Linked DNA regions of Homo sapiens: region 2 is linked to region 1. Evidence: promoter capture Hi-C in human tissues and cell types (Jung and others, 2019). All regions are on one chromosome and are shown on one strand. The core of a region is centred on a gene start or on the middle of the fragment in contact, and the rest is flanking DNA. Distances in the headings are between cores, read along the strand shown. Region 1 holds the start of EPN3 (epsin 3). Region 2 holds the start of NME1 (NME/NM23 nucleoside diphosphate kinase 1).

The links. Contacts are between HindIII fragments. The study calls those that stand out against the background at their distance.
Region 2: the fragment with the promoter of NME1 here is called in contact with the fragment with the promoter of EPN3 in region 1 in 1 of the 25 tissues and cell types used here (heart right ventricle).

What each region holds. Positions count from the first base shown.
Region 1 is chr17:50,530,448-50,533,984 of GRCh38, forward strand. It overlaps EPN3 (epsin 3), which reads left to right and starts at 2,288. Exons shown (of 10, transcript NM_017957.3): 1 at 2,288-2,538. It overlaps MYCBPAP (MYCBP associated protein), which reads left to right. Exons shown (of 19, transcript NM_032133.6): 19 at 880-1,054. The coding sequence ends at 981. RefSeq lists an enhancer at 3,154-3,537. The HindIII fragment of the contact is 9,890 bases long and covers 1-2,733 here.
Region 2 is chr17:51,151,735-51,155,451 of GRCh38, forward strand. NME1 (NME/NM23 nucleoside diphosphate kinase 1) reads left to right here and starts at 1,825. Exons shown (of 5, transcript NM_000269.3): 1 at 1,825-1,928. It overlaps NME1-NME2 (NME1-NME2 readthrough), which reads left to right and starts at 1,825. Exons shown (of 9, transcript NR_037149.2): 1 at 1,825-1,928; 2 at 2,491-2,710. RefSeq lists enhancers at 1,138-2,337, 1,361-1,892, 1,676-2,095, 3,492-3,717. The HindIII fragment of the contact is 32,954 bases long and covers 1-3,717 here.

The sequences.
Region 1 (3,537 bases), core at 1,038-3,537:
TCACGCCATTTCACTCCAGCTTGGGTGACAAGAGTGAGACTCTTACCTCCAAAAAAAAAGAATCAACTTGCTGGCCAGTGGCTCACACCTGTAATCCTAGCACGTTGGAAGGCTGAGGCAGGTGGATTGCTTGAGCCCAGGAGTTCGACATCAGCCTAGACAACACAGGGAGACCCCATCTCTGCAGAAAAAAAAAAGAATCAACTTGTCTGGGCTTGTATGATCCAACCCCATTGGAGGGGTCAGTCCCAGAGACCTTTCAGTCTGTGGATACAGGAAGGAAAATTGGCCTCCAGGAGGCCAGAGTAGAACTGGGGCTGAGCCCAGGCCCACCCCAAACGGCTAAATGGGCACCGCTCCATGGGCTCCCTGGAGTTGCCCCTTGAACAACTTAGCTCTAGTATCTCCATATGTCAAAGGTACCAGCGCAGGGCCACCTCCCCAGACTGGTTTGAAAAGTAAAACTGCAAAAGCAGGTGGATTGCTTGAGCCCAGGAGTTCGAGACTAGCCTGGGCAATGTGGTGAAACCCCATCTCTACAAAAAATAGAAAAAAGTAGCCAGGTCTGGTGGTGCACGCCTGTAGTCCCAGCTACTTGGGAGGCTGAGATGGGAGAATCACCTGAGCCAGGGAAGTCAAGGCTGCAGTGAGCCATGATCACACCACTGGACTCCAGCCTGGGTGACAGAGTGAGATCCTGTCAAAAAAAAAAAAAATCTGCAAAACCAAAAATTATTTCACAAGAACTTTGAACTTGTGAAATTCTTTCACAAACAACTGGTTTCTTTCCCCTCTCCAGCTATTCTCTCACAGCATAGTTCATATATAGGTGCTTCCCACAGAGTAAACTCTGCCTGTGATGTTGTCCCGTTCTTCCAGGTCCGTGGGCTGCTGGACACCCTGGTGACTGACCTGATGGTCCTGGCTGATGAGCTCAGCCCCATAAAGAATGTCGAGGAGGCTTTGCGCCTCTGCAGGTGACTCTCGGGCCCAAGCAACCTTCTGGAAAACGGGTTAATAAATAAATCAATAAAGAACCTTCAAGTTTCTACTACTTCCGTGTGCCTCTGTGTCTTGCATGATGGATCTTGGCTAGGTCAGCTCCTGATCCAGGTCCTCCCATGTTCCACCTGCCCTCAGATCCCCTCCTGCCAGCTGCCAGAGCCCTCCTGCAGGAGGACAGACAGACATAGCTGGGGAAGTGATGTGTGGGATGCCAAGCAGAGGAGCAGATTGGTAGCAAGACAAGGAGTCAGGTGACAGGACAGTGTGTCACCTCTGGTAGTCCCTGCCTCTGGCTTCCTTGGCCCACACTTTCAGGGTCGTGCTTCCTGGAGCCAGGTCTTCCCGAAGTGTCATCACCAAGTATGACAAAGTGTGAGATGAGGAGTAGAACTAGACCCATGGGACCTGGCTCCCTGCCATCTCCCCTCTTCAGCTGGGTCCCAGGGCCCCAATTCAGTCCCTGAAGATCATGCTCACCACACCTCTTCAGCTCTAGAGGCCACATCACCTTGTTATTTCGGGGTCTAGTCTGCCTTATCCCCCTCCTCATCTCAAACTATCTGGCCTTGAGCCATCTTTCTGCCTTAAAAACAGCTGCTGATCTTCATGCTACCTCCCTTGCTCAGGGGAACATGAAACAGGCTAGAAATGGCTCTCAGAAAAAAAGGTATTGTCAGCTCAAACTCAGGCCCCTCATTGTCTTCTGTCAGTCATAACCATTTGGGGCTGGGCTCCCTGTGTGAAGAGCACTCCAGGCTCCCAGAGTTTGAAGAACAACTTTGGTTTTTGGGTGGGTGGGCATCCTTAAGTGGGCCTCAGGCATCCTCCAGCTGAGATGCAGGAGGGGGAGGATGGACAGAAGGATCTGACTCCGTGTGGGAAAGGCAGGGAGGGGGCTGTGCTGGAGTCCTGATGCTCTCCTCCCCAAGAAGACGAGAAGACGGGGGCTCCACCAAAGAGCCAGCCCCAGGGAATGTCCCTGCCCTCTCCTTTAATGTCCTCCCGGCCCAGAGGAGGAAGGGGAGGGGTGTGGTGGGGGTGTTGGAGCCCCCCTCCTTTCCTGTTGAAGAGGCAGGGGAAGGGTTAACTCAAAGCAGAGGGGATCAGGTCGCCAGCACTGGCTCCAGATGTGCACTTCCTGGGGGCGGCCAACAGGCAGGCCCCCCACCTCTCAATGCACCACTTGCCTGGCCAGCAGGAAGGGGTTAACCTGCCCTGCACTTCCTCCTGTGTCCTGTTACTGCTGAGGCAGACCTGCCGGGCCAGCTGAGCAACTTTCCTCGGAGTGCTGCCTGGCGCTGGCTAGGAGGCAAACGCACGCGGGAAGAGCTGCTACCCATTCCAGGGACCCTGCCGCTGCCCCTCTGAGGGGTCTGCACCTCCTGGGAGCAGGTGGGTCTCTGGGACGAGGGTCCATGGTGGATGGCTCTGGAGACGCTCCCGAGGCTGTGCCGTCCCGCTGCTGCACAGGTCGGAGGGTCACCGCAGAGGCTACTCGGGCTGGGGCTGGGGCCGAGGGAGCCCGCACTGGAGGTAAGCTTCCTCCCTGGCCCCCTCCCTGGCAGTGGCGGCATGGAAGGCGGGGGTTGGTGGGGAGCAAACAGTGGTTCTGGGGCTTAGTCTCTTTTCCAGGTGCGAGGGAGAAGGCTGAGCTGTAGAGGACCTAAAGGCTTCTTTCCTGCCACCCCTCCCTCCCTGCCGCCCCCAAAAAGGGACTCAGGGCCCCCTCCCCAACCATCCTGGGACTTAGCATCTTTGGTGGCATCTTAGCATCTTTGGTGGCATTCCCCACAGACTCCTTCTGCACATCTCTGCTGTTTCCTCTTCTTCAGCCCCTCATGCACACCTCTAGCCTCAGGGCAGTCCCCCCTCCCCCATCTTCTGTGCTCCCGGGATGCAGCTATTACAGTGGCCAGAAGCTTAGAGTTCAAGCTCACCCCCTGTCCCTTACAGCATCAAGAAGGGCACTGTCATTCCCCACTGCTCAGGCTGGATCTGACTTGGAGGCAGGGGCTGGAGCCCACCTTAGCAGAGGACGGGAAGAGGGTGTGGGCTGGGCTGGTGGGTGCACAGACTTTACGCAAACTCATGCACGTGTGACTGGACAGATCTGGGTTCTCTCCATCTCTCCGAAACCCTTGCTGGGGATGAGCGATCTGCATTTTTCGGTCCTGACTTTTGGGAAACTCTCCAGATCCCCCCATCCTGCAGGCCCTGAGAAGAGCAGCCCCTCCCTACTGCGCAGTTCTCCTTGGGACCCTGTATGCAGGAGAGAGCTGATACTCCGTGCCCCGTGGCCCATCCCACCGCCTGCTGGCCCTGCTCCCATCCCCTCAGCTTCCTCCCTCCTCTGCCCTCTCGTCATCTCTGAATTCTCAGGCCCTGCCCTCTCTGTGCCCTTCCCTCCACCTGACAGGGTCTGGCTCAAGGTCACTGCAGTAATTCCATACCCAGCTGCCCAGGGCTGCTGCTGCTACCGCCACCGCCTTATCGGCCGCTGGGTTTCTGTTACACTCCCTTTTATTTCTGGGC
Region 2 (3,717 bases), core at 575-3,074, 620 kb after region 1:
AAATACAAAAATTAGGGCCAGGCGCGGTGGCTCATGCCTGTAATCTCAGCACTTTGGGAGGCTGAGGCGGGCGGATCACGAGGTCAAGAGTTTGAGACCAACCTGGCCAACATGGTGAAACCCCGTCTCTCCTAAAAATACAAAAAGTAGCCGGGTGTGGTGGTGGGCACCTGTAATCCCAGCTGCTCGGGAGGCTGGGGCAGGAGATTCGCTTGAACCCGGGAGGCGGAGGTTGCAGTGAGCCGAGATCGCACCACTGCACTCCACCCTGGGCGACCTGGCAAGGCTCCGTCTCAAAAAAAAAAAAAAAAAAAGAAAAAGAAAATACCGGGCGTGGTGGCAGACGCCTGTAGTCCCAGCTACGCGGGAAGCTGAGTCACGAGAATCGCTTGAACCCGGATGGCGGAGTTTGCAATGAACCGACATCGTGCAACTGCGCTCCGGCCTGGGCGCCAAAGCGATACTCGGTCTCAAAAAGAAAAAAAAGAAAACAGGAGAATAATGAAATTTTACTTATTTATTTTATTTATTTTTTATTTTTTTGAGACCGAGTCTCGCTCTGTCACCCAGGCTGGAGTGCCCTGGCGCAATCTCGGCTCACTGCAACCTCTGCCTCCCGGGTTCAAGCGATTCTCCTGCCTCAGCCTCCCGAGTAGCTGGGACTACAGGCGCCTGCAACCACGCCCGGCTCATTTTTGTATGTTTAGTAGAGACGGGGTTTCACTATGTTGCCCGGGCTGGTCTCGAATTCCTGAGCTCAAGTGATCCTCCCGCCGCTGCTTTCCAGCGTGCTGGGATTACAGGCGTGAGCCACCGCGCTCGGCCAAAAGTTTTAAATTTCAGTAAGTTCCAATTTATCAACTTTTTCCCTGTATAGATTGGTCTTTTGGTGTCGTCTAAAAACTATTTGCCTGGCCCTAGGTCCTGAGGATTTTTTTTAACTTTTTTTTTCCCCATAAGTGATTTATTGTTTTACATTTAAATCTATGATTCATTTTGAGTAAATTTTGTATAAGGTGAGAGGTTTAGGTTGAGGTTCTTTGGGTCTATATTCGTCCAATTGCTCCAGCATCATTTGTTGAAACGGCTCCTGATTCCATTTTTGTACCTTTCCCCCGTTCATTTCCCCTTAGAGCAGTGGGAATGTTTTTTTGTTAGTGATGATGTCATGCCTTGTGCAAAATCTGTATTAGCATCTCACAACATAAGATTTGGCTCTATTCTAACGGCATTTTCCACCACTCGATGTCCACCGTAATACTTGGCTCTCGAAGAATCACTGGGCTGGCTCCCTCACTTCATGCAGGTCTATTCTATTATCACTTACTCAGAGATTTCTCTGGCCTTTTCTTCACAGCACTTACAAAATGCGATCTATTACATATTAATTTGCTTATTTGCTTCTTGTTTTCCTATACTCCCATCCCTCCCAGAAGCTCCAAGAGAGCATACTGTTTTATCCCTAGGGCCTAGAATAATGCGTCCACGTAGTAGGTACTCAAAATTTTTTGCTTGACAGGCTAGAAAAGGTGAATAAACACAAAGCGGGAGCGAAAAGTCTACTTCTAGGTCAGGCACTCTTTGGACTTCACGCAACGTGTGAGCGCCACCTCTCGGGAAGCCAATTTGCTCGCGAACGAAGGAAGTGAGTCAGAGAACCCGGGGGTGGAGAGAAGAAAGCAAGCAGCTAACCGGAAAGGTCTGAAAAAGCTAGCGCCGGAAGTTAAACTGCAGAAAGTTGTTCCCTAGAATGACTGCCTACTCCCAAGAGGAAGCGTGGGCGAGCGGTGTTCTGCAAAATGGGCTCTCCGGCAGCGGATCTGCGCAGAAGCGTTCCGTGCGTGCAAGTGCTGCGAACCACGTGGGTCCCGGGCGCGTTTCGGGTGCTGGCGGCTGCAGCCGGAGTTCAAACCTAAGCAGCTGGAAGGGTAAGAGGTGTTCGGGATCCTGAGAGGAAAAAGAAAGGAGTGTAGTCGCGGGAGTGGGTTAGGTGAGGAGTTAGTGAAGAGATGAGTTCAGCTCTAAGAGGCGGCGAGGAGGATCGGATGGGAGGAGGGGCAGGGAGCGCCTGTGGACAAGTGCAGACCGGTCGGCGCACGTCCCACGCCACGTGGACTCGCCTTTGTCGGTGGCCGCCTTTCTCGTCAGGCCGCGACGACAGGGCTGTGCCTTATTTGTGTCTGTCGAGAGCAGTGCCGGGCACGGAGTTGGCGCTCTGTAAGTGCTTGCTGAATAAATGACGGGTGTGTGTGTCATTCATTCAGCAAGCACTGAGTGCTTACTGTTGTGTCACCGGGACCGATGTGGAGGGACATTTTTAGGGTGTATTTCTGGCGCTTTAGTCCTGTTTTCTCCTGGACAATTTATGCTTGCCCCGCACCCCATCGTGCGATTCTCCGCAGTCTTTGGGCTTTGTCTCTCTCTCTTTTTTTTTTTTTGGAAGTTGCAGAATGGTGATAAATGATTTTCTTTGCTCCTATTGACTGCTAGGCCCTGTGGCTAGGTACCATAGAGTCTCTACACAGGACTAAGTCAGCCTGGTGTGCAGGGGAGGCAGACACACAAACAGAAAATTGGACTACAGTGCTAAGATGCTGTAAGAAGAGGTTAACTAAAGGACAGGAAGATGGGGCCAAGAGATGGTGCTACTGTCTACTTTAGGGATCGTCTTTCAAGGCGAGGGGCCTCCTATCTCAAGCTGTGATACAGGGTAGGTCATGAGCGCAGTCTTCTGTAAAATGAGGGATCTGGACGGAATAGTTACTCTCTAGGCTTCCTTTCAGTATGATGTCCCGTATCAGATATTCCTAATGTCTGTAGTTCTCCCACACCCCACCGTTTATTGGCTAGTCAAAATATTCTTTGCATTGTAAAGTGTAGCATAACATTACAAGAATGGATTAATGGGTTGGGAATGCTGGGTTTTGGCCTTCATTCTGGTGCTGTGGTCCTGTTTCCTCATTTGTAAAATGAAGGGGGTTGTAAAGATATATTCTCTAAAACCCCTAATGCTATGGCTGTGGCATTAAGTCAAACTATTATTTCTTACTGCTTTGTACCGGACATCACTTTCACATTAGTAAAACTTTTCATCAGTGTAGTTTCTCCCAAGCTTGATTATTGAGAAAGATAGTGCCTTGTTTTTAACATCCTGTATCCTAGTTCCACCGCAGTGTTTGGTACACAGTAGATGTTTAAAAGAAGCTTATTAAATCAAATGGTGGCCAGGCTCATGGGGCTCACGCCTTTAATCCCAGCACTTTGGGAGGCTGAGGTGGGCAGATTACTTGAGGTCAGGAGTTGGAGACCAGCCTGGCCAACATGGTGAAACCCCATCTCTAGTAAAAAAAAATACAGAAATTAGCTGGGTGTGGTGGCACGCACCTGTAGTCCCAGCTATTTAGGAGGTTGAGGTAGGAGAATTGCTTGCCTGGGAAGTGGAGGTTGCAGTGAGCCAAGGTCGCACCACTGCACTCCATCCTGGGCGAAAGAGCAAGACTCCATACCAAAAAAAAAAAAAAAAATCAAATGGGGCTGGGTGTGGTGGCTCATGGCCATAATCCCAGCACTTTGGTAGGCTGAGGTGGGCAGATCACTTGAGGACAAGAGTTCGAGACCAGCGTGGGCAACATAGCGAAACCCCATCTCTAAAAAAACCCCACAAAAACCAAAACAAATGAAAATAAAATAAATCAAATGGGATAGAAATTATAGTCC